Linked DNA regions of Homo sapiens: regions 2, 3, 4, 5 and 6 are each linked to region 1. The links are contacts of gene promoters, found by promoter capture Hi-C in blood cells and fetal thymus (Javierre and others, 2016). All regions are on one chromosome and are shown on one strand. The core of a region is centred on a gene start or on the middle of the fragment in contact, and the rest is flanking DNA. Distances in the headings are between cores, read along the strand shown.

What was found. Contacts are between HindIII fragments. The CHiCAGO score rates a contact against its expected background, and 5 or more counts as called.
Region 2: a contact is called between a fragment that was not itself captured here and the fragment with the promoter of RETSAT in region 1, in 1 of 17 cell types (erythroblasts). The highest score is 5.5, in erythroblasts.
Region 3: a fragment that was not itself captured here is called in contact with the fragment with the promoter of RETSAT in region 1 in 1 of 17 cell types (M1 macrophages); the score reaches 5.7 in M1 macrophages.
Region 4: a fragment that was not itself captured here is called in contact with the fragment with the promoter of RETSAT in region 1 in 1 of 17 cell types (endothelial precursors); the score reaches 5.3 in endothelial precursors.
Region 5: a fragment that was not itself captured here is called in contact with the fragment with the promoter of RETSAT in region 1 in 9 of 17 cell types (erythroblasts, M1 macrophages, total B cells and 6 more); the score reaches 9.7 in erythroblasts.
Region 6: a contact is called between a fragment that was not itself captured here and the fragment with the promoter of RETSAT in region 1, in 1 of 17 cell types (endothelial precursors). The highest score is 7.1, in endothelial precursors.

The regions. Positions count from the first base shown.
Region 1 is chr2:85,353,278-85,357,054 of GRCh38, forward strand. It overlaps RETSAT (retinol saturase), which reads right to left and starts at 1,251. Exons shown (of 11, transcript NM_017750.4): 1 at 1,059-1,251. The coding sequence starts at 1,230. ELMOD3 (ELMO domain containing 3) reads left to right here and starts at 1,492. Exons shown (of 14, transcript NM_001135022.2): 1 at 1,492-1,552; 2 at 1,799-1,893; 3 at 2,278-2,321; 4 at 3,690-3,777. RefSeq lists enhancers at 1,253-1,754, 1,319-1,718, 1,755-2,254, 1,889-1,948. The HindIII fragment of the contact is 19,367 bases long and covers 1-3,777 here.
Region 2 is chr2:85,717,095-85,720,871 of GRCh38, forward strand. It overlaps LOC124907851 (a long non-coding RNA gene), which reads left to right. Exons shown (of 2, transcript XR_007087118.1): 2 at 1-213. Among named protein-coding and RNA genes, the nearest start is that of GNLY, 25 kb to the left of the region's middle. The HindIII fragment of the contact is 2,908 bases long and covers 394-3,301 here.
Region 3 is chr2:85,655,040-85,658,816 of GRCh38, forward strand. SFTPB (surfactant protein B) reads right to left here. Exons shown (of 11, transcript NM_000542.5): 11 at 2,275-3,777. Among named protein-coding and RNA genes, the nearest start is that of SFTPB, 11 kb to the right of the region's middle. The HindIII fragment of the contact is 1,889 bases long and covers 767-2,655 here.
Region 4 is chr2:85,045,236-85,049,012 of GRCh38, forward strand. It overlaps KCMF1 (potassium channel modulatory factor 1), which reads left to right. Exons shown (of 7, transcript NM_020122.5): 5 at 869-1,043. Among named protein-coding and RNA genes, the nearest start is that of LINC01964, 20 kb to the right of the region's middle. The HindIII fragment of the contact is 3,334 bases long and covers 509-3,777 here.
Region 5 is chr2:85,635,410-85,639,186 of GRCh38, forward strand. It overlaps USP39 (ubiquitin specific peptidase 39), which reads left to right. Exons shown (of 13, transcript NM_006590.4): 7 at 644-721; 8 at 1,960-2,027. Among named protein-coding and RNA genes, the nearest start is that of USP39, 21 kb to the left of the region's middle. The HindIII fragment of the contact is 283 bases long and covers 2,008-2,290 here.
Region 6 is chr2:85,090,802-85,094,578 of GRCh38, forward strand. No RefSeq gene overlaps it. Among named protein-coding and RNA genes, the nearest start is that of LINC01964, 25 kb to the left of the region's middle. The HindIII fragment of the contact is 989 bases long and covers 1,144-2,132 here.

The DNA of each region.
Region 1 (3,777 bases), core at 1-2,500:
CCCTGTCTCTACTAAAAATACAAAAATTAGCTGGGCATGCCCACTACTCGGGAGGCTGAGGCAGGATAATCACTTGAACCCAGGAGGCGGAAGTTGCGGTGAGCGGAGATCGCGCCACTGCACTCTAGCATGGACAATAGAGCGAGACTCTGTTTCAATAAATAAATAAATAATGCCAGTTGCAACTCACTAAATTGATTTCATAGCCCACTAATAGATCACAATCCGGTTTGAAAAGCAGTTAAGCTAGTCATCTCATTTTTAGACCAGCCCAGGTAGGTGCTAATGGTTATGCAGCAAATTAGTGACAGAGTCCAAGCTAAAACTCAGTTCTCAGAAGTCCAGATGATTAGTCCTTCCACTTAGAACAGTACTGTCTCCGATTGTGTAGCAAGATATGACACGGAGAATTCTAAAATTTACAAGTGAGAGGGACTCCGTAGATCAAACAGGTGATCCATTATTTTTTAAAGCAGCAGAACTCTTTAAACTCTAGAAGCAACCACAAAATATGTTTTAAAGATGAGAGTGGAGAGCAGGCTCTGAGCCTGAGGCGCCTTGTTGAACCTCTGCCAATGTTTCAGAACTAGGGTTCAATCCTTACGATTTGGGACCATGCAAAGCCTGTTAAATCACCGGACGGGCAAAACGCAATTTCCTACGCATTTCTGTGCTGCTCCCCCACACCCCTGAGCTCGCATGGGAGGGTAGGTGAAAAAGTTAAGGTCCTGGAACCAAGTGGAGGAATGAGTCACGGGGATTATCAGTTCCACGAGCCACGGGGATTACAAGTGGCAGGGCGGGTGCCAACACCTTGCAAACCAAGGACAATGACCACACCCTTGGGACTACTATTCCCGGGGCCTACTAGGGCAAAGGCTATCGACAGTGTTGCACACTAAAGCGGGGCTCCTCCACGTGCAAGGAAGCCCTCCTAGTACTTTACATATGGGGAAACTAAGGCCCACGTCTGGTAGCGGCTGCCTTGGCAAAATGAGAACCCAAATCTGTGAGAAAGCCTCGAGTGCAGCCCCGGACCCCAGGGTCCCTCCTGCTACCTTGTTTGAGAACCTTCTTCCTGGCCTCCTTGTCAGTTACCAGGGGCGCTGGGGGCCGTTTGACATCTTCGGAGAAAGGATTCGGGGAGCTGCCAGAGAATAGTCCCAAGTAAACTTTGCAGAGGACGGCCAGCAGCAGCACAGCCAGGAGCAGCACCAGCGGAAGCCACATCACGCCGGCGTCGGGTCGGGTAAATGGGACAGCTCCGACTGCGCTCAGCCTCTAGGACTGTGGCTCCGCCCGGGCTAGTTCGCTCTCCAGTCAGGAGGCGGAGGCAGCTTTGAGCACTGATTAACCAGCCAGCCAGCGAAGAGCCAACTCTCAGGTGATGATTGACCCTCCCGGCTCTCCGTACTTCTTTTGGGTTTCCATTGCCTACTGGGAAATGTAGTTCTCGGGGCCAGGGGAGCCGGCACGGAAGCGGCTGTGCGCATGAGCAGATGAGGCCTAGCCGAGGCGGCGGGACCCCCAAGTTTGGAAAGCTCTTTTAACGGTGAGAACGCGTTAACACTTGCCAAGGGGAGTGGTTGGTGCCTGTGCGGAGCTAGCAGCCGGCCTGAGGAGGGAGGGAGAATGTGATCCGGTGGAAATTATCACTATGGGGCGAGACAAGGCCGAGAGTTGTAAGACTGAAAGAGAATCCCGACTGGGAGACAGGAGTCCTGAGTTCTGGTCCTGGCTCTGCCCTGGACTCGCTGCCTTGAGGTGTTAAATTGCTTTCCTCGTCTTACGCCTCCAGGCTATGCGAAAGTTCTGTCCAAAGGCTGCTCACAGCCCCTGTCTGACTGGTTGTCATGATGAATTGAGCTCTCTGTTACCTGCGCATCACAACCGGTGAGCGTCTGTCTCTGTGCCCCTCAAAGTGGCCCATAGTTTTGTCCTGGGGGCCCGCCTGGGACGGAGTCCTCTATGGCGGGTCCCTAATGACACCCCATCCGTGGGGAACCTGGGGGACGGGGAGCCGCCCATGGACAAGCATGGTGAAAGGATCAGCTAAGGGCCCATCTAATTTAAATTCCTATGCAGAGAATCTAACCTCCAGCAAGCAGTTGAAGAATCATACCCCCTCCTTGCCTAAAGAGGGTGCATAATGAATACTTGATTGGAGAAGGATCCATTTTTACAGGAAGGCCGTTTCCTTAGGTCCAACTATCAGGAATTTGCCTTTGAGTACTTCCTTGTTTAATGGAATTGTTGCTCTTTTCTTCTCTGCTACAGATAGTAACTGTCCCTACTGAAGGCCCCAGGAGTGCTCCAGCCAGGTGTGGAAAGCTGGTCACGATTCTATGCTACTTGGTTCATTTTCTACACAGCAACAGAAGAGCCCTCCTGAGATTGCTATTACCATACCCGCCTGTCACCTTGCCAAGGCTGGCCAATGTGTGTTTTGTCATAGGCTGTCATGGAGGCCATGATGGAGGAAAAGGAAAGGGGAGGCAGATGTTGAGGCCCCAGAGGCCACAGTGAGAGCAGTTTAGTTCCTGGGGTGCCAGGACTAAGGGGGCATTGCCCTGTCCCCCGGATTACAGTGAGCCACATGTCAAGCCCAAGAGCCAGGAGGTATTCTTCCTCTCAGTGTTAATAATCAAAGCATCCTGACACCAGCAGCCAGTTTTTATGGCATCCTGGAGGGCTGACCTCATAGAGAGGCTACCCTCCTTCCTTAGTCACCCAAAGTTGTGAACTATGATTGTCAGTTGTGTGTGGGCCATCTGCCCACTTAGGATGCAATTTTTGATGTGACAGACATTCCGGATGTCCAATTCCCCTGTGATGAGGTATGAGCCTTGTCCAGCCCTTTTCCTGAGGGAAGCAATGTCAGATGAAAGACTTAGAATTGCCCAAACTGGCTAGCCAGCTGCCACATGCACAGTATTGCTGATAACTGAGAAAGGTTAGAACATCGTGTTGCATTTTGAATTTCTACCATTGTTGGAACCAGGTCTAGTATTATAAGCCCCTGACCCAGCCTGTGTGTGAGGCCTAAACAAAGCCTGAGCACTTCAGCTAAGACCACCCACCAAGGTGACACCTTTAGCCTCACGCCTTTGATAAGCTGGCCCAGGTCCCAGTAACTCCATTGTCAGAAACAGACCCCATCCCTTCTAGTGGTGCTGCTGCCTTTTGGACACAGAATCCAGCTCACAGTCCCCTGTGTGGTCCCCTTTTGGCCATCCTGTGGCTTGGGTAGTAAGAGGTAAGCATTTGGCTGAGGCAAGTTGTTCATTCAGAATAAATTCACAGCTGCTTAAATTTTGTCAACAGGCCGAGCGTGTTGGCTCATGCCTGTAATCCCAGCACTTTGGAAGGCCGAGGCAGGCGGATCACGAGGTCAGGAGTTCAAGACCAGCCTAACCAACATAGTGAAACCCCATCTCTACTAAAAATACAAAAATTAGCAGGGTGTGGTGGCGCACGCCTGTAATTCCAGCTACTCGGGAGACTGGGACAGGAGAATCGCTTGAACCCGGGAGGCGGAGGTTGCAGTGAGCCGAGATCGCACGGCTGCACTCCAGCCTGGGCAACAGGGCAAGACTCCAACTCAAAAAAAAAAAAAAATTGTCAACAGAGGCATAACTGAATGGTGAAACCAGTTTTCTTTTTCAATTTCTTTTTTTTCTTTTGTGCAGAGCTGAGGCTTCGAAGACCTCAGAGGACTTCTCTCAGCACTCACAGAAACCTCCTACACCCTCGGATGGCACAAAGGGACTGTTTTCT
Region 2 (3,777 bases), core at 598-3,097, 360 kb after region 1:
TAAACATTATTATTTATTTATTTTCTTAGTTTTTTCGCCCCACTTCAATAAGCTAGTCGAAGACAGTAGATTTTAAATGTTCTCACCACAAAAAATGGTTAAGTATGTGGGATGATAAATATGTTTGATTTACTCATTCCACAGTGTGTACGTATATCAAAGTATCATGTTGTAAACTATAAATAAATATCATTTCTTATTTGTCAATTAAAAGTGTAACACACACATATGCATGCACACTATATATAAATACATCTTTTAAAACTGCTGGTCAGGAATCAGACGGCCTCCACGGGTGGTGTCACAGGGCTGCCCCCCGCAGCCTCCCTCATGGTTCTGAGCCCTCCTCAGTCACTCTTTTGTTTAATGCTTTAATCCCTGCTTTAAGTAGGAAGCTTCCCTTCAGCTCATGGGAGGCCCTTATCTTACCGGTGGTCAAATAGATATGGGAAACATTGCCTGCTCTGTTTTTGGTGATTGGCGGTGCACGTGAGTATATTAAAGACTCTAAAAACGCATTTTTCAGAGCATGTCTATGACAGCTTGCAGTGTTGGATGTGAATGGCTTCTTCAATGCCAATGTGCAATTAAACGGGAGGAACAGAGATGCTGTCTTGGGAAGTACAGACACAGGGAGAAAAGAGTCATGAGGCTGGCTAGTGACGAAGACAACTCAAGAAGACTTTGTGTACACTTGCCACGTTACGTCACGCAAGATAGGAGTTGTCAATAATTTCCAAATTAATATATTGCACAAAAGGCCTGGGAGTTATTGTTGCTGTCGACAGCACAGTGTTGGTGAGTGCCCCTCCCTAGCATGTAAGATAACATCTGTCTCGGCCTCTGTAATTAAGAACAGATGCGAATCCATTTCAACCTTTCCATGCTCTAGGAGGAAAGGGCTGCCATGCAAATGAGTCAAGCAGGCAAGTGTGCACTACAAATCTTTTCACTTCGGAAGGGCAAATATTGATTTCAAACTTCCTAGAAGTACCTGTTTGAAGCCCTGTCAGTAGCCCAACAGATTCAGAAAAGATATCCTTCCCCGCTTTAGACACCCGACCACCACTTGCCAGAGAACAGTCATAGATGTTCAAATTCCCCATCACGACCATGTGAAGGGGCCACTAGAGCTTGCAGTGCACTTGCGACACCTATGGGCATGGAATCTCCATATTTTCAAGACATACCACGGGTGGTTCATGTTCTGAGGGTTGTCTGATGGAGGACATTCTATCAGCTTTTACTTGGATCTATTGAATGTCCTTTGACGACAAACACTATTCTCCAAAAAATTTCCACTTTTTATTCTCTCTTAATTCCTTTCTCTCCTCTGTCTGCTGTCATCTGATTGATAAAAATCCTACTAGCTGCCTGCCCTGTCCTGTCCTATTCATAGGGACAGCCACCTACCTCTGTGGGCTTCTCTTCTCCCTCTCCCAGCTGCCTGTCCTGTCCTGGTCCCTTTTTTTTTTTTTTTTTTGAGACAGTGTCTCACTCTGTTGCCCAGGCTGGAGTGCAGTGGCGTGGTCTTGGCTCACTGCAAGCTCCTCCTCCCGGGTTCACGCCATTCTCCTGCCTCAGCCTCCCACGTAGCTGGGACTACAGGCGCCCGCCATCACACCTGGCTAATTTTTTTGTATTTTTAGCAGAGACAGGGTTTCACCGTGTTAGCCAGGATGGTCTCCATCTCCTGACCTCGTGATCTGCCCGCCTAGGCCTCCCAAAGTGCTGGGATTACAGGCGTGAGCCACCTTGCCTGGCCTGTCCTGGTCCCTTGAGGTGGCTTTCCTCCCTGAATCTGCTCCTGTACAGTCCTTATGGTCCCCTGATTTGCATCTTTGCTCCTTCCTCCCCAGGCTGTGGGAACCTCCAAGAGAAGGGAGACGGAGAGCCCTGCTCAGAACAAGTGGCCTATGAAGCTGTGGCTGGGTCCCCAGGGTCCTCGGCCTTCCTTGTTCATGGAGGGGGTGTCCTGTGGGTGTGGGGACAGTGGGCTCAGGTGGTCGGGCCAGCAGTGAGGTCTGGCGAGTGAGCTGGTCAAGCAGGCAGAGTAACCAGAGGTGAAGATGAACGCCATGGATTTGGGCACGCAAGAGCTGGCTCCTGGGAAAATCAGCTAGGGCTGGCAGCTTAAGACAGAAAGGTTCTCCTAAGTCCAGGGAAGGGGGTCAAAGTCCACAAAGCAAGGACCTTGCCCTCACCCTCCCAGTAAGTGACACATAGATTAGGTCAGATACTTGAGCGGGGCTGTGAGACTTAGGCACATCCCACGTGTGGCAGATACTGATGGGGTGAGACGCTGAACCTGGAATGGAGCTCTAAATTTGAATTCCAGTTCAGCAGTAAACTCACCACATGACCTTGGAAGAGACCGTGCACCTCCCTGAGCCACAGAGCCCTTTACTGCAAGCTGAGGATAACACCCGTCCTCTGCACCCCAGAAGTGTGTTGGGAGGAGAAAAGGTTAGAAGCCTGGGGGTTCCTTGTAAGCAGTGATGAATGGAGGGGTCTGTGAAGGGTGGCTGAAAATCAGGGTGCTCCAGGCCAGGGGCAGGGATCCTGGCAGTGGAGTGGGAGAGAGATTCAAGAACAGAGTCTCTCCAGGTTTTGCCATCTGTAGAGGTCAGAAGCACCCTGCCTTGACCTTGGGCTATTTCTAGAGAGCTGGCCAGGCATCTCTCATGATGGCAGCAGCTGGCTGCCTCTCCTCTGGTGCTGGCTGCCTGCTCCTTGGCTCTGGCTGGACCTGCTCCAGGTTGAGGTCTCACCAGTTGAGCTGTCAGAGCCAAGGTAGGACAGAACCCAGGCTGAGCCCTCTGGAGAACCCGCAGTATCTCAGAGGCACTTTAGCTTCTGAAGCGAGGAGAAAGCCTTGCAAGTTTAGTCCACGGTAGCCTGGAAGAAGCCGTCTCACTGGGGAGTTGGAGTTGGTCAATATTTCCTACCCCCATCACCACCACAACTTTACAATTGCTTCAGGCATTAATTACCCTTTGCAACAGCCTTCTCATCAAGTCACTTCTCCATTCAACAAATTCTTAGTAAGGGCCGATGTGGCCCCCATAGAGCTTACAACTGAGTGCATCGACAAGAAAATAAACATGAAAAAAATATAATTCTGACTTGTGGTAAGAGCTCATAAGGAAGTGAACTGGGTGCAGTGTAGTTGGGTGGTAAGGGAAGGGGCTCTCTGGAGAAATACCACTGAAGCTGAGGCTCGAAGGATGAGAAGGGGCCAGCTAAGTGAATAGTGGGGGGATAGGAAGGTGTTCCAGGCAGAGGGAACAACACATGCAAAAGCTTAATGGCAGGAGAGGGCTCAGGGCCTTAGAGATATAAAGGAGGTGAGGGGGACTAGACTGTAATGAGTGAGGAAGACAGAGTGGGAGACCAGTCAGAGAGACAGGCAGGGGCTAGATTGGGCAGGGCCTTTTAGGCCAGGGGAAGGAGCTGGGATTGTCTTCCAAGTACAATGGGAAATGCTAAAGGGTTTTAAGGAGAGAGTGATGGCATCTAATTTGCACCGTGAAAGGTTACTTTGCTCTGTGGAGAGACAGAAGAATAGAAGTAGGAAGACTCTGAAGTAGTTTGGGTGACTTAGACTATGATAATGTAGCAGACAGGATAAGCTAGGTTGTGCTGCAGTAACAGACAGCCCCCATTTCAATGGCTTAACATAACAAAGATTTATTTCTCTGTCATGCATCAGCAGAAGGGCTCTGTTGATCTTACTCACTCAGGAATCCAGGTATGGGTCTCATCTGGACATGATGT
Region 3 (3,777 bases), core at 461-2,960, 300 kb after region 1:
TGGTACGGCTGGCACAGAGGCCCAGATTGATAATCCAGCCTCTGTTAAAAGTAAAGGTGTCCCCCAAATTTCATGTCTTGGAATTGATTCTAAGAAGACAGACAAACAAAGATGTAAGTGCGAGGATTTTTATTTTTTGCAAATCGTTGATAATAGTTGCTTAAAAAAGAAAGGGCCGGCCGTGCGCGGTGGCTCACGCCTGTAATCCCAGCACTTTGGGAGGCTGAGGCGGGTGGATCACGAGTTCAGGAGATCAAGACCATCTTGGCTAACACAGTGAAACCCCGTGTCTAGTAAAAATACAAAAAAAAAAAAAAAAAAAAATTAGCTGGGCGTGGTGGCGGGCTCCTGTAGTCCCAGCTACTCAGGAGGCTGAGGCAGGAGAATGGCATGAACCTGGGATGCGGAGCTTGCAGTGAGCTGAGATCACGCCACTGCAATCCAGCCTGGATGACAGAGTGAGACTCTTGTCTCAAAAAAAAAAAAAAAAAAAAGTAAGGGCCAGCCATGGTATCTGACGCCTGTAGTCCCAGCACTTAGGGAGGCAGAGGCAGGAGGATTGCTTAAACCCCAGAGTGATCGCACCACTGCACTCTAGCCTGGGAGACAGAGCTGTCATGTGGCAATTAGCAATAATAGTAGATACTTACATTTATTGACCTGAAAAGGTTATTGTTAAATGAACAGTGCAGGTTACAAAGCAGCATGTATAGGATGTTTCCATTTTGTAGATCTGCTGTATCTGTTTTTGTATATGTGCACAGAAAGCTTTGGAATTATAGATAATAACATGTTAATAATGATTATGTCGTGGATTTAAAATTTCAGTTATTCATTAGGGGGACATAATGTAATTATCTTTATTTCTCTATAACTGAACTCATTTTGGCTCATGAGCCCTCAAAACATATTATTTCCATTTCGGAGTAACTCATTCCCTTCTTAATACTCAGCCTCTCTTGGCTGACTAACCACTGAATCCTCTTTCCCCTTTCCCTGGGAATGATTTACAGATTGCCCTGCGGTGAGGAGAGGCACTGGGGACTAAGCATTCCCTGGCCATCCAGGTCTCTCTGGAGTGTCTCTCGTCTTGCCTGATCATCATCTTCTTGTGCCATCACTGCTACACATCTGATTTCTGCTCATCTCAAGATCCACTAAATCTGTCACAGATTCATCCCCAACCGTGGGCTCTTACGGGTGCACCATCTTGTCCAGAGCCAATTCTGACTGCCTCTCGGTCTGTGGGTTGAGGTTGCTCTTCTGCAACCACATCACACTGGGAACACTCTGTGAGGCAGACCTCAGGCCAGCTGCCTAGCTCCATCCCTCAGGCTAGCGTCCTCACCCTTTCTGATGTCCTGTGAGAGGCAGGCTTCTCTTAGAAGCCCACACCCTGGAAAGTGAAGAATAAGTCCCCTCCTCTTGGGCTATAATCCCTCCTGGGACTTCTCTTCCCCCAACTTCCTAAGGGCAGAGGTGCAGGATGTTGGACACTTCTCAGGGACCCTAGGAGTCTCAAGTGTAGCCACTTCCTGCCAATTCTGTCCTCCTACCAGCTAGTCAACTCTTTTTTAAAATTATTTATTTATTTGTTTTTGAAATAGGATCTCTCTGTGTCACCCAGGGTGGAGTGCAGTGGCATCATCACGGCTCACTGCAGCCTTGACCTGGATTCAGGCGATCCTCCCACCTCAGCCTCCTGAATAGCTGGGACCACAGACACACACCACCATGGCCAGCTAATGTTTGTATCTTTTTTTTTTTTCTTTTAGACAGAGTTTTGCTCTTGTTGCCCAGGCTGGAGTGCAGTGGCGCAATCCTGGCTCACTGCAGCCTCTGCCTCCTGGGTTCAAGCAATTCTCCTGTCTCAGCCTTCCAAGTAGCTGGGATAACAGGCATGCACTACCACATCCAGCTAATTTTGTATTTTTTTTAGTAGATATGTGGTTTCACCATGTTAGGCTGGTCTGGAACTCCTAACCTCAAGTGATCCACCCACCTCAGCCTCCAAAAGTGCTAGGATTACAGGTGTGAGCCACCATGCCCAGCCAAATTTTTATATTTTTTATAGAGATGGTGTTTTGCCACGTTGCCCAGTCTGGTCTTGAACTCCTGGGCTCAAGTGATTCACTCACCTCAGCCTCCCAAAGTCTGCCAATTCTTGACCTCCTTTTGAATGAAGCCGCCTTTTTCATTATCAGGCACTCATTCCCACTCATATTTTTGGGATAAACTATTAATGCCTCCAGTTCTTCAAACATTGGCTCTTCATTGTCTCAATCAAACTTTTTTGTTTTTATTTTTTTAAATTTAAAACACCCTTTTCTCTCAGAGAGTTGGATTTTGTAATGGAAACAATGGCTTTAAGGACAGTAGTTAGCTATAGATTTACAAATGTCTACTTAAAATCCAGGAGCCAATGAATTGTGTGTCTCATCCCCAGGCCCAAGAGCAGGCTGCATAGACAGCTCTTTCTGGCGCTTGAACGGTGGAGGTGTGGAGCCAGAGGCTGTGGGGAGAAGATGGAAAAAGCCCCAAGCTCAGTGTCAAAACACACACCCTGCCGTAGCTCTCTCCTGGGCTAGGTGGGATTGTGGGTGTCACATGCTTCCCTGTGAAGAGACTACCAAACAGGCTTTGTGTGAACAATAAAGCTTTTTAATCACCTGGGTGCAGGTGGGCTGAGTCCAAAAAGAGTCAGCAAAGGGTGGTGGGATTATCATTAGTTCTTGTAGGTTTGGGATAGGCGGTGGAGTTAGGAGCAATTTTTTGTGGGCAGGGGGTGGATCTTACAAAGCACATTCTCAATGGCGGAGAGAATATTACAAAATACCTTCTTAAGGGTGCGGGGGTGCGGGCGTGGGGTGGGTGGGGAGAATATTACAAAGCACCTTCTCAAGGGTGGGGAAGGTGTATTGTCACAAGGTCAATTGATCAGTTAGGGTGGGGCAGGAACAAATCACAATGGTGGAATGTCATCAGTTAAGGCAGGAACTGGCTATTTTCACTTCTTTTGTGGATCTTCAGTTGCTTCAGGCCATCTGGGTGTATACGTGCAGGGCACAGGGGATATGATGGCTTAGCTTGGGCTCAGAGGCCTGACAGTGGGTAATTTCCACTCTCTTTGTCTGTAGTTTCTGAATTTCTTACAAGAAACATGTATAAGAAATATGACAAAAGTTATTTTATAAATAAAGGGACACTTCCAGGCATTTCAGTCTTTAAGAAAAGCTAAGGCTTGTTTGGCTTTTTGTTTATTTTTAGGTTTTTGGTGTCCTCATGACCTAACCTCATCCCAGTGAGTAGAGACTGGGAGGGGAGAGCAGCAGCTGGAGGGCAGGCTGGGAGCGCTTGTGAGGGAGAGGAGCTATGGACGTCTGCTTCTCTGCCAAGGGAGAGAGTGAGGTAGGCCTGGGCCCGCTGACTTCAGGGTGAGGCCACAGCTACTGCAGCGCTTTTTATTTATTTATTTATTTACTGAGATGGAGTCTTGCTCTGTCACCCAGGCTGGAGTGCAGTGGTGCAATCTCGGCTCACTGCAACCTCTGCCTCCTGGGCTGCAGTGATTCTCCTGCGTTCAAGTAATTCTCCTGCCTCGGCCTTCTGAGTAGTTGGGATTACAGGCATATGCCACCACACTTGGCTAATTTTTTGTATTTTTAGTAGAAATGGGGTTTCACCATGTTGGCGAGGCTGGTCTCGAACTCCTGACCTCAAGGATCCTCCTGCCTCGGCCTCCTAAGGTGCTGGGATTGCAGGTGTGAGCCACCACGT
Region 4 (3,777 bases), core at 926-3,425, 310 kb before region 1:
CTCAAGATACATATATATATGTATATATAATCATAATATAAAATTATCAAATATATAAATATGATCATATCACTTTCTCTAGAACCCAAACCATCCTCATGAATATGATGGAACAGGGCATGTACCGTGACACCTGAAGGCCTCTTGGAGCTACCCATCCGGTCCTTAAATAACTCCAGAACCATCAGCTGAAAAACTGAGAAGCCAGCCAAAAAATTAATCTGCATTATAAAGCTGGTCTGTTTGGTACTTTAAAGGAAAAATCTCTTCTATATGATCTGGCCTCCCCCACCTCTCATTTGCCTTTGTGGAAACGTAAGGTTGTCTTCATGAGTTTTGACAGCTATTTGCAACTCAGGACCTTTTTCAGTTTGACTTACACTCAGCTGTGTAAGACGGTTGAGGCTGCTGGGAATTTTTCTTCGTGATAAATGTCATGTTAATCTATCTGTGTGTCTTATACAAGAAATGCAAATCTGTTTTCTGCTTAGCAGCGGCATTGGAAAGAAGCTTGAAGACAGAGTAAAACTAATAATCCAAAAGGAACCTTTGATGTGCTGAATATACATTCAGTATTGTTCCTTTTTCATTATAGGTGGTATTTGAGATTTCATGAGCTATATAGAGAAACTTTTTTACCTCACACACCCAATACACACACACACACTCACATGTTGCCTTACATTTGAGTGTCTTTTTAGGGTTAATAGCCCTCATAGATAGAGTTGGGACATTTGCACTTTAAGTTAAATGTGCTGTTTTTAAATGCTTACAATTCAGGAAATCTTTACATCTGTCTAGCAAGGACTCAGGTGATTTTTTTTCTTTCTGTGAAATACTTTCGTTTTTTTCTTAACTTTTGGGTTATGATGAATCGAGTGGTGTTCGACATGTACGTAGAATGTTTCACCCTGGCCGGGGATTAGGAGGTCCTCGTGCTCGTAGATCAAACATGCACTTTACTAGCAGTTCTACTGGTGGACTTTCTTCTTCTCAGAGTTCATATTCTCCAAGCAATAGGGAAGCCATGGATCCTATAGCTGGTAAGTTAGTTTCACATTAATAAGGGAAATGGCAGGGGAAGGAGGAGCTCCTTTTAAAACTTTTTGTGATGCCAGGTGCGGTGGCTCACACCTTTAATCCCAGCACTCTGGGAGGCTGGAGCGGGTGGATCACTTGAGGCCAGGAATTCAAGACCAGCCTGGCCAACATGGCAAAACTCCATCTCTACTAAAAATAAAAAAATTAGCCAGATTTGGTGGTGGGTGCCTGTAATCGCAGCTACTCTGGATGCTGAGGCATGAGAATCGCTTGAGCCTGAAAGGTGGAGGTTCCAGGGAGCCGAGATCGCACCACTGCAGTCCAGCCTGGGTGATGGAGTGAGACCCTGTCTCAAAAAAAAAAAAAAAAACTTTTTGTGAGATTTGTGTTCTTAAGTCTCACCTCTCTGATCATAAGCCATGTTCCTTCACAAAATTCCCAAATACATTAAAAGTGTAAAATGTGTTAAAAGCAGACACTTAACATAAAGTAATTCATACTCTTCTGGCATTGCTTAAGTCCAGTAGTCCCCCCGTCATGTGGTTTTGCTTTCCTGGGTTTCAGTTACCCACAACCAACTACAGTCAAAAAATAGGTGAGTACAGGACAATAAGATACTTAGAGAGAGACCACATCACATAACTTTCATAGTATATTTTTAGATTTACTCTATTTTGTTGGGAATCTCATGTTCCTAATTTATAAATTAGGTGCCTAATTTATAAATTAAACTTTAGCACAACAGATAAGTATGTATAGGAAAAAACATAGTATGTATAGGGTTCTGTATTATCCAAATGCCCATTTCAGCCATTCACTGGGGGTTTTGGAACGTATCTCCTGCAGGTAAAGGGAGACTACTGTTCTTAGAGACAAAAGATGATAAGAAATGGTTTTATGTTGTATTTGTGGCCTCTATTGAAGCCCAAGGAAATCATAAAAGATTTCAACTTGAATACCTCCAAAATGTCATGGTTAAATCTCCATAAGTACACATAAAAAAATGTCCAAAGCACATTTGAAATTAAGGTTTTATAAGGTATAGCTAACATTTTTAAGAACATGTTATGTGTAAAATTCTGTCACAGATTTATGCCTATCTCAGATGTTGTGCAAGGCGCCTCATGGCTTCCAGGTACACATTCCACCACATGGACACATTTCAGAACTGTTATCTATAGCTAATTGAAAAGACTAAAGAATTAAGCTCTTCTCATGGAAGAAAGGAAAGTAGGACTTAATGTCCTGACCTTGATTTGAGAACTATATTGTTGTAGAACATACTGAAAGGTACATGTTTAATAGCTTGGGAAAAATCTTAAAAAAAAAAAAAAAAACACAGTTTTTGAACCTGGCCATGTCACTGAGTCTAGTACATGACAAACCTAGGAAGTTGGTAGCAGAACACAGGGTCAAAATAAAATACAAGAAATCACTGTAGCCTGATAATCTGCAAGACACACCAAGCAGACAAGTGGTAAGACAGTGGGAAGTGTGCACACATTTAAAGCAACAATTCTGAAATGTGTCCATGTGGTGAAGTGTGCACCTACCTGGAAGCCATGAGCACCCTGCAGAACACCTGAAACATTGATAAGTGTAAATCTGTAATAGAAACTGAGAACATCAGAGCTAAATGACAACTTAGGAACACAAAGGAGGAGACAGCAGACACTGGGGGAGGGTAGCAAGAGAGAGAGGAGCAGAAAGATAACTGTTGGGTACTGGGCTTAATTGGGTCCTGGGTGATGTAATAATATGTATGACAAACCCTCGTGGCAGGTGTTTAACTGTGTAACGGACCTTCACATGTACCCCCAAACCTAAAATAAAAATTTAAAAAAGAAAAACAACCTAAGAACAATTTTATACCTATCATGTTATTTAAAAGTTAGATATACCATATAAAATTTTAATTCCAAATGTGCTTTGGACATTTGTGTGTGCAACAACAAAAACAAGCCTAATAAACTGAGTTTGGGGGATTTAAAAAATATTTCTTCATCCAAAGGGAATATTTACCTGCTATTTTGGTGGCAGGCACTAAAAATTAAAGTAGTTTCTGGGAGCAAAATTCAAAATTGAGAAATTTTCTTCATTTGATTTTTTTTCTGTCAGTGAAAATTAGTTTATTTTAGTGATAGACTGTATATTCCATGAAAGAGTGGTATAAGAGTGCTATAAAAAGCCTGGGATAAAGCAACAGTGAGCAAGAAAACAAACTGTTAATGAGTTTTAATGATAAAGAGTTTTTGCTGGCCTGAAAGTGTCTGCAAGGCAGTCATCGATTCCCTATAAGCGAGGTGGACCCTCCACTTGGAAGAAGGCATTTCACTGTACCTTACTTAGATGAGGATGCGGGGACAAAAGTTTACACCTCTCTTAATGAGTACAGCCTTATGGACACAAGACAGTCTGGATCATAACAGGCCACTAAGTAGGCTGTACAGTCAGATGCAGCAGGTTCTCAGGAGCCAGTCAGCCTTGCTGAGCACTGGTAGTGGTATCTACTGCAGTGGTACTCTGAAACAGCAGTACCAGAAGGTACTAGAGGGAGAAAGCAGAGGCAGAGAGTGTGCAAGGGCCACCATCAGAAATGATCCAGGCCTCTTGGACTGAATCCTAATAATTCATTCAGTCATTCAGTAAATGTTTGAATTCCTGCTATATCAGGCCCTGTTCTGATAGCTGGGAATATAGTCAACAGTAGACCTCATCCCTGCTTCCATGGAACAC
Region 5 (3,777 bases), core at 899-3,398, 280 kb after region 1:
ATTAGCTGGGCATGGTAGCAGGCACCTGTAATCCCAGCTACTCAGGAGACTGAGGTGGGAGAATCGCTTGAACCCAGGAGGCGGAGGTTGCAGTGAGCTGAGATCATGCCACTGCACTCCAGCCTGGGCGACAGAGTGAGACTCTGTCTCAAAAAAAAAAGTAGCCACTATCCCTGAAATGTCTGAGTGGCAGGTTCCGTAGACAGCATTTTCATGGAATATTGTCAATCTGCTTTCAGAACCCCTTGTTCTGTATGCCTTTTCAGTCTGGGTGCTAGTCACTTTCCTAAAAGACAGGAATCTTCATGAGCTGCAGAAGGGAAGAAGGAAGTTTGAGCTCACTCTGGAGAAAAGTGGATGTTAAAAGGTCATATTCATTTGTTTTGGTCATCACTGAGTGATGCGATACAGTCCTGGTATGAATCAGAGAGCCTATGGAGAGAGTCAAGATCGGAGGAGTGAGAGCTTGACCTTGAGGAGTGCCAGCATTTAATGATAAGATAGAGGAGGATGCACGGCAGTTGGGATGGGATGGCATGGCCAGAGAGGAAGGGGGAGAACCAGGAATGCCAACCAGTGCATGGTTTAAGTTAACTCTAATGCCACTTAGCTTCAACGTTTTCCACCCTTCCTTTTTTTCCAGGAGATGGCGTTGACTTTCTGTCTTGGTTTCTGAATGCTCTGCACTCAGCTCTGGGGGGCACAAAGAAGAAAAAGAAGAGTAAGTCATTTACTTATAAAAAGGAGTTATTTTGTTCCCTTTTAAAAAACTTTGCGGTCGGTCGCAATGGCTCATGCCTATAATCCCAGCTCTTTGAGAGGCCGAGGTGGGTGGATTACCTGAGGTCAGGAGTTTGAGACCGGCCTGGCCAACATGGCGAAACCCCATCTCTACCAAAAATACAAAAGTTATTCAGGTGTGGTGGGATGTGCCTGTAGTCCCAGCGACTTGGGAGGCTGAGGCAACTTCCCATTCTTTTGTTAACTGTTTATCTGGGGTAGGCTAGTATCTATGTTATAGATAAACTACATGTTCTTTCTGAATAGGCCCCTCTCCATAGTTTTTGCTAGAATATGGTTATAGTCCCAATGATATTTTATTATATATATATTTTGAGACAGAGTCTTGCTCTGTCACCTAGGCTATGCAGTGGCACGGTCTCAGCTCACTGTAGCCTCCATCTCCCAGGTTCAAGCAGTTCTTCTCCCTCAGTCTCCCAAGGGTAGCTGGGATTACAGGCACCCACTACCACGCCCAGCTGATTTTTGTATTTTTAGTAGAGATGGGATTTCTCCATGTTGGCCAGGCTGGTCTCAAACTCCTGACCTCAGGTGATCTGCCCAAAGTGCTAGGATTATAGATGTGATGGTGTCTTGATGTGGGATTGTGGCCTGTTGCTTTTCCCACTGGATGGCCCTGCCCTCTCTACCAGGTGTCTTCAGCCTGTGTTAACCCTCTGAGCTCTCTAACTTGCGTCTTGGCAGGGTTCTAGAACTTGGTTGTGCTTTCTCTCTTGTTGCTTTGATCCTGTTCTGGCCCATCTCTTAGTCTGTCATTGTCCTCTTGTCTTCATTACAGTTTGGACATTGTCTCCCTTTGAAAGTAGCTTATGGTTATGGGAAGTTCCTTGGCTGTACCTTGTTTTGCTTGTGAATTTTTTTGTAATTCATGTATCACCATTCCTTCATTTTGAACACATTTACCTTTTCTTTTATGGACCAGGCCCTGTGATGGAGGATAAAAAGTTGTCTTAAGAGAAATAAAGTAATTATTTACACAAATAATTATAAAGGTACCCTGGTGGTATATAGTACAAAAGGAAACTTCTGTGTTTAGTGAGAGCTCTGTGTCTTTTGCTGGAAGATGCTGGTTTATTTCAGAAATTTAGAAGCTGGAAATATACTTCAGACATGTTTTCCATCCTCACGGAATTTGTCTCTTGCTTCCTGTTTGTGCAGCTATTGTGACTGATGTTTTCCAGGGGTCCATGAGGATCTTCACTAAAAAGCTTCCCCATCCTGATCTGGTGAGTTAATTGAGCCTGGGTCTTGGACTGATTCATATTGCTTGAGGGGACGTAGGGGAGATGAAGAGATGCTCAGAGAACTGACAAGCCTGCTTGCCCTGTGAAGAGGTTCAACAAAGCACCTGCCTAGTGGCAGCTCTGCCTGGTCCCTGTCATACTAGTGCACTTTTTCAGTTTGGGAGTTAGTGGTTGGATGTACTGTGCTGGTTTAAGTGTTCTGGCCACTAGGTGGTGCTGCTGTGTTTTTTCAGAAAGCTCAGCTAAGCTTTCTTTTTGTTTTTCTTAGTCTCCCTCTGTCGCCAAGGCTGGAGTTGCAGTGGCGCCATCTCAGCTCACTGCAACCTCTACCTCCTGGGTTCAAGCGATTCTCCTGCCTTAGCCTCCTGAGTGGCTGTGATTACAGGCGCTTGCCACCACGCCCAGCTAATTTTGTATTTTTAGTTGTGACGGGGCTTCACCATGTTGGTCCAGGCTGGTCTCGAACTCCTGACCTCAGGTGATCTACCTGCCTCGGCCTCCCAAAGTGCTGGGATTACAGGCGTGAGTCACCGTGCCTGGCCCTCAGCTAAGCTTCCTAGATGGTCTTAGAGCTTTTCTTTTTTGAGATGGAGTTTTGCTCTTGTTGACCAGTCTGGAGTGCAATGGCATGATCTCAGCTCACTGCAACCTCCACCTCCCAGGTTCAAACCATTCTCCTGCCTCAGCCTCCGAAGTAGCTGGGATTACAGGCATGCGCCACTATGCCTGGCTAATTTTTCTATTTTTAGTAGAGAAGAGGTTTTACCATGTTGGTCAGGATGGTCTCAAACTCCTGACCTTAGGTGATCCACCTCCCTTGGCCTCCCAAAGTGCTGGGATTACAGACATGAGCCACCGTGCTCGGCCCACTTTCTTTTTTTAATGGATTTTTTTTCCTTTTTGAGACAAGATCTCTGTCACTCAGGCTGAGTGTGGTGGCGTGATTATGGTTCACTGCAACCTCAACCTCCCTTGCTGAAGTGATCCTCCCACCTCAACCTCCCCAGAAACTGGGACCATAGATACACACCACCACACCGGGCTAATTTTTATTTTTATTTTTGTTTAATTTAATTAATTAATTAATTTATTTATTTTATTGAGACGGAGTTTCACTCTTGTTGCCCAGGCTGGAGTGCAATGGCACTATCTCGGCTCACCGCAACCTCCGCCTCCCGAGTTCAGGTGATTCTCCTGCCTCAGCCTCCCGAGTAGCTAGGATTACAGGCGCCACCACCACGCCCGGCTTATTTTGTATTTTTAGTAGAGACGGGGTTTCTCCGTGTTGGTCACGTTGGTCTTGGACTCCTGACCTCAGGTGATCTACCTGCCTCGGCCTCCCAAAGTGCTGGGATTACAGGTGTGAGCCATCATGCCCGGCCAATTTTTTTTTTTTTTTGTAGAGATGGAGTCTCACTGTGTTGCCCAGGCTGGTCTGGAAGTCCTGGACTCAAGCAGTCCTCTCACCTTTGTTCCCAAAGTGTTGAGATTACAGCCGTGAGCCATCACACTTGGCCTCAGGGCTTTTTAGATAGTCTGGTATATAAGCAAAATATCTTTAAAGAAGGAAACCTGTTGGTTCTTAAGTTAATCTAACCAGGTGGTGCATGCCAAACTGCCCAATCTCTCGGGCACTTCTCTTTGTTCTTTCAGATGAAGGAAATGTCGGCGTGGTAAAACATCGGTTCTGTGTTGGTTCCTATACCCGTCACACTCCTTTCCTCTCTTTTCT
Region 6 (3,777 bases), core at 388-2,887, 260 kb before region 1:
CCTTTTTCACTTAATGTCTCCTGACCTTTCGCCAAAATCATTAAAATGCTTTCGTTTGTTTGTTTCACCAGTGATCAAAGAAAAGCAAATCAGCCAGATGCTGCGGCCCATGCCTGTAATCCCAGCACTTTGGGAGGCTAAGGAGGGAGAATCGCTTGAGCACAGGAGTTAGAGACCAGTCTAGGCAATATAGTGAGACCCCCGTCTCTACAAAAAATAAAACACTAGCCAGGTATGGTGGTGCGTGCCTATAGTCCCAGCTACTTGGGAGGCTGAGGCAGGAGGACTGCTTGAGCCCAGGAGATCAAGGCTGCAGCGAGCTATGATTGCATCACTGAACCCCAGCCTGGGTGACAGAGAAACCTGCTGTCTCAAGAAAAAAAAAAAGGAAAATATCATTTTTTCACATATCACATTGGCAACATTTTAACATAAAACAAGATGCATATGAAGAGTTTTAAATGAATGTTCAAATGCCTTGATTCAGTAATTCCATATCGAGGAACCTATTCTAAGAGACAGAGAGGTAGTGGAAGATTTATTTATAAAAATATTCATTGTGGCATTATTTAGAGCTGTGAAAATTGCTGTGGAAAATAATTTGAATGTATAACACGCAACTTCAGAAAATTATGCCAGCACAAAATATCATATTAGAAAGTATATTTAAGGCCGGGCGTGGTGGCTCACACCTGTCCCCAGCACTTTGGGAGACTGAGGCGGGCAGATCACCTGAGGTCAGGAGTTCAAGACCAGTCTGGCCAACATGGTGAAACCCTGTCTCTACAAAAAATACAAAAATTAGCCAGGTGTGGTGGCAGGCGCCTGTATTCCCAGCTACATGGGAGGCTGAGGCAGGAGAATCACTTGAACCTTGGAGGCGGATGTTGCCGTGAGCTGAGATCGTGCCATTGCACTCCAGCCTGGGTGACAAGAGCAAAACTCCATCTCAAAAAAAATATATATATATATATAGATATATATATATTTAATAGCACACAAAAATATTCCCAGGATATGTAAGGTGGAAAAAGTAGAATATGGTTCTGATTTGGTGACATTTGTAAAATAAATCCATATAAATTAAACAACATTTCAACATTTCAGTCTTCTTATTACCTAATAATGTGAAAAGGAAAGGGAAGCTTAGGGTATGCTTAGGATAGGTTGCATTCAAATATAGGTTTGTGGCATACTCACAATTCCCTTTGTAGTTGTGGCGGCCTGCCCAGAAATAGGCAGCTAAACAGGTTTCAGAAGAGATCTCCCTAAGGGCCAGAAGGGATCTGCCTCCCAAAGTGTTAAGATCCTGAGTCAGGGCAAAACAAAACAAACAAACAAAAAACGCACAAAACAAAAAAGGGTTTCAGACATGGGACCCAAAGCCACAGTGCCAAGTCCATAGGATCCAAATTACAGGTAACAATGTGCAAGCAAGTTGCTTCTCCTACCAGTAACCATGAGGCACAGCTCCCTGGTGTGTCGCAGAAGGCTGTGTTTACTTAACGATTGCTATGGCTTGAATGTGTCCCCCAAAAAGTATGTGTTGGAAATGTAATCCCCAGTGCAGCAGTATTGGGAGACGGGGCCCAATGGGAGCAGTTTAGATCATGAGGGCTCCACCCTTATGAATAGATTCATGCCAATTTTAAAAGAGCTTGAGACTGCAAATTCAATCTCTTGCCTTCTCTCACCATGCAATACCTTCAGTCATGTTATGACGCAGCAAGAAACCCTCGCCAGATGCATTCCTCAATCTTGGACTTCCCAGCCTCCAGAACCATGAACCAAATAAATTTCTGTTTGTTACAAATTAGCCAGTGTGTGGTATTCTGCTATCGCAGCACAAAACAGACTAAGACAACAATGGTTAGTGACATTCTGAGCAAGGCTGGGAGGCCACAGTTTGCAAATATGAATAGGAACAGCCTAGAAGGACAGTCCGGTATTACCAACACTTATCTCTGAGTGGTGGGATTAACCAATTATTTTTCACTTTTTACATTTCTGTGTTTTCTAAATTTTTTTGTCCTAAATACATGTGACTTTTTGAAAATTCTTATTAAGAAAAATGTCAAACATACCAAAAGTAAAGAGACTAAAAAAAATTAATCTTCCTCTGTCCATCACTAAGCTTTGGCTATTCTCAACATTCTGTCAAACCTGTTTTATCTCTCCACACTCCAATTTTGTTTTTTCTTCAGTATTTTGTTTTATTTTATTGGGACAGGGTCTCACTCTGCCACCCAGGCCAGAGTGCAGTGACACAACCATGGCTCACTGCAGCCTCGACCTCTCTGGCTCAAGCAATCCTCCCACCTCAGCCTCCCAAGTAGTTGGGACTACAGGCACATGTCACCATGCCCGGTTAATTATTTATTTATTTTTAGAGATAGGGTCTCACTATGTTGCCCAGTTTGGTCTTGAACTCCTGGCTTCAAGTGATCCTCCCTTGCCTCAGCCTCCCAAAGCTGTGGGATTATAGGCATGAGCCACTGTGCCTGGACTTTTCTTGAGTATTTAAAAACAAATCCTAATTTTTCCATGTTAGGCCAGTGAAGCCCCCTCAAGTTGTCTCATATGTCCTTTTCAAATGACTTCATTAGTCTTTGACAGTTTCTGTGCTTCCTGGCACAACAAAATATTCCTGCTAGTGGTAGATTTTTAAAAATGGTTACAAATCCCTCTCTTTCCTGTATGCAGGCTTCTTTGCAATATGACTTTGCAACTTAGAGTTGAATGGACTCTAGAACAATATGCAGCATGAGAAATGGGAGGATTTTGCTCCCCCAAAGTGCAATAAGGCCCTCTGTGTTTTTGTTTTTTGTTTTGTTTTGTTTTGTTTTTTAAGAAAGAAGGCAAAAGTTTATTTATAAACCATTTACCTGAGATAATCTCCATTCTTTTTCTTTTTTTTATTATTATTATACTTTAAGTTTTAGGGTACATGTGCACAATGTGCAGGTTAGTTACATATGTATACATGTGCCATGGTGGTGTGCTGCACCCATTAACTCGTCATTTAGCATTAGGTATATCTCCTAATGCTATCGCTCCCCCTTCCCCCCACCCCACAACAGTCCCCAGAGTGTGATGTTCCCCTTCCTGTGTCCATGTGTTCTCATTGTTCAATTCCCATCTATGAGTGAGAACATGCGGTGTTTGGTTTTTTGTCCTTGCGATAGTTTACTGAGAATGATGATTTCCAATTTCATCCATGTCCCTACAAAGGACATGAACTCATCATTTTTTATGGCTGCATAGTATTCCATGGTGTGTATGTGCCACATTTTCTTAATCCAGTCTATCATTGTTGGACATTTGGGTTGGTTCCAAGTCTTTGCTATTGTGAATAGTGCCGCAATAAACATACGTGTTCATGTTGTCTTTATAGCAGCATGATTTATGGTCCTTTGGGTATATATCCAGTAATGGGATGGCTGGGTCAAATGGTATTTCTAGTTCTAGATCCCTGAGGAATCGCCGCACTGACTTCCACAATGGTTGAACCAGTTTACCGTCCCACCAACAGTGTAAAAGTGTTCCTATTTCTCCACATCCTCTCCAGCACCTGTTGTTTCCTGACTTTTTAATGATTGCCATTCTAACTGGTGTGAGATGGTATCTCATTGTGGTTTTAATTTGCATTTCTCTGATGAATAAGGCCCTCTGTTAATGACATGTTACCTAATGTCAAAGAGGTTTTATGTAATACAGTAAAATTAACATCTTTATCCAGCCTCTCCCACCAAGACATATGGTTTATTTCTCCTACCT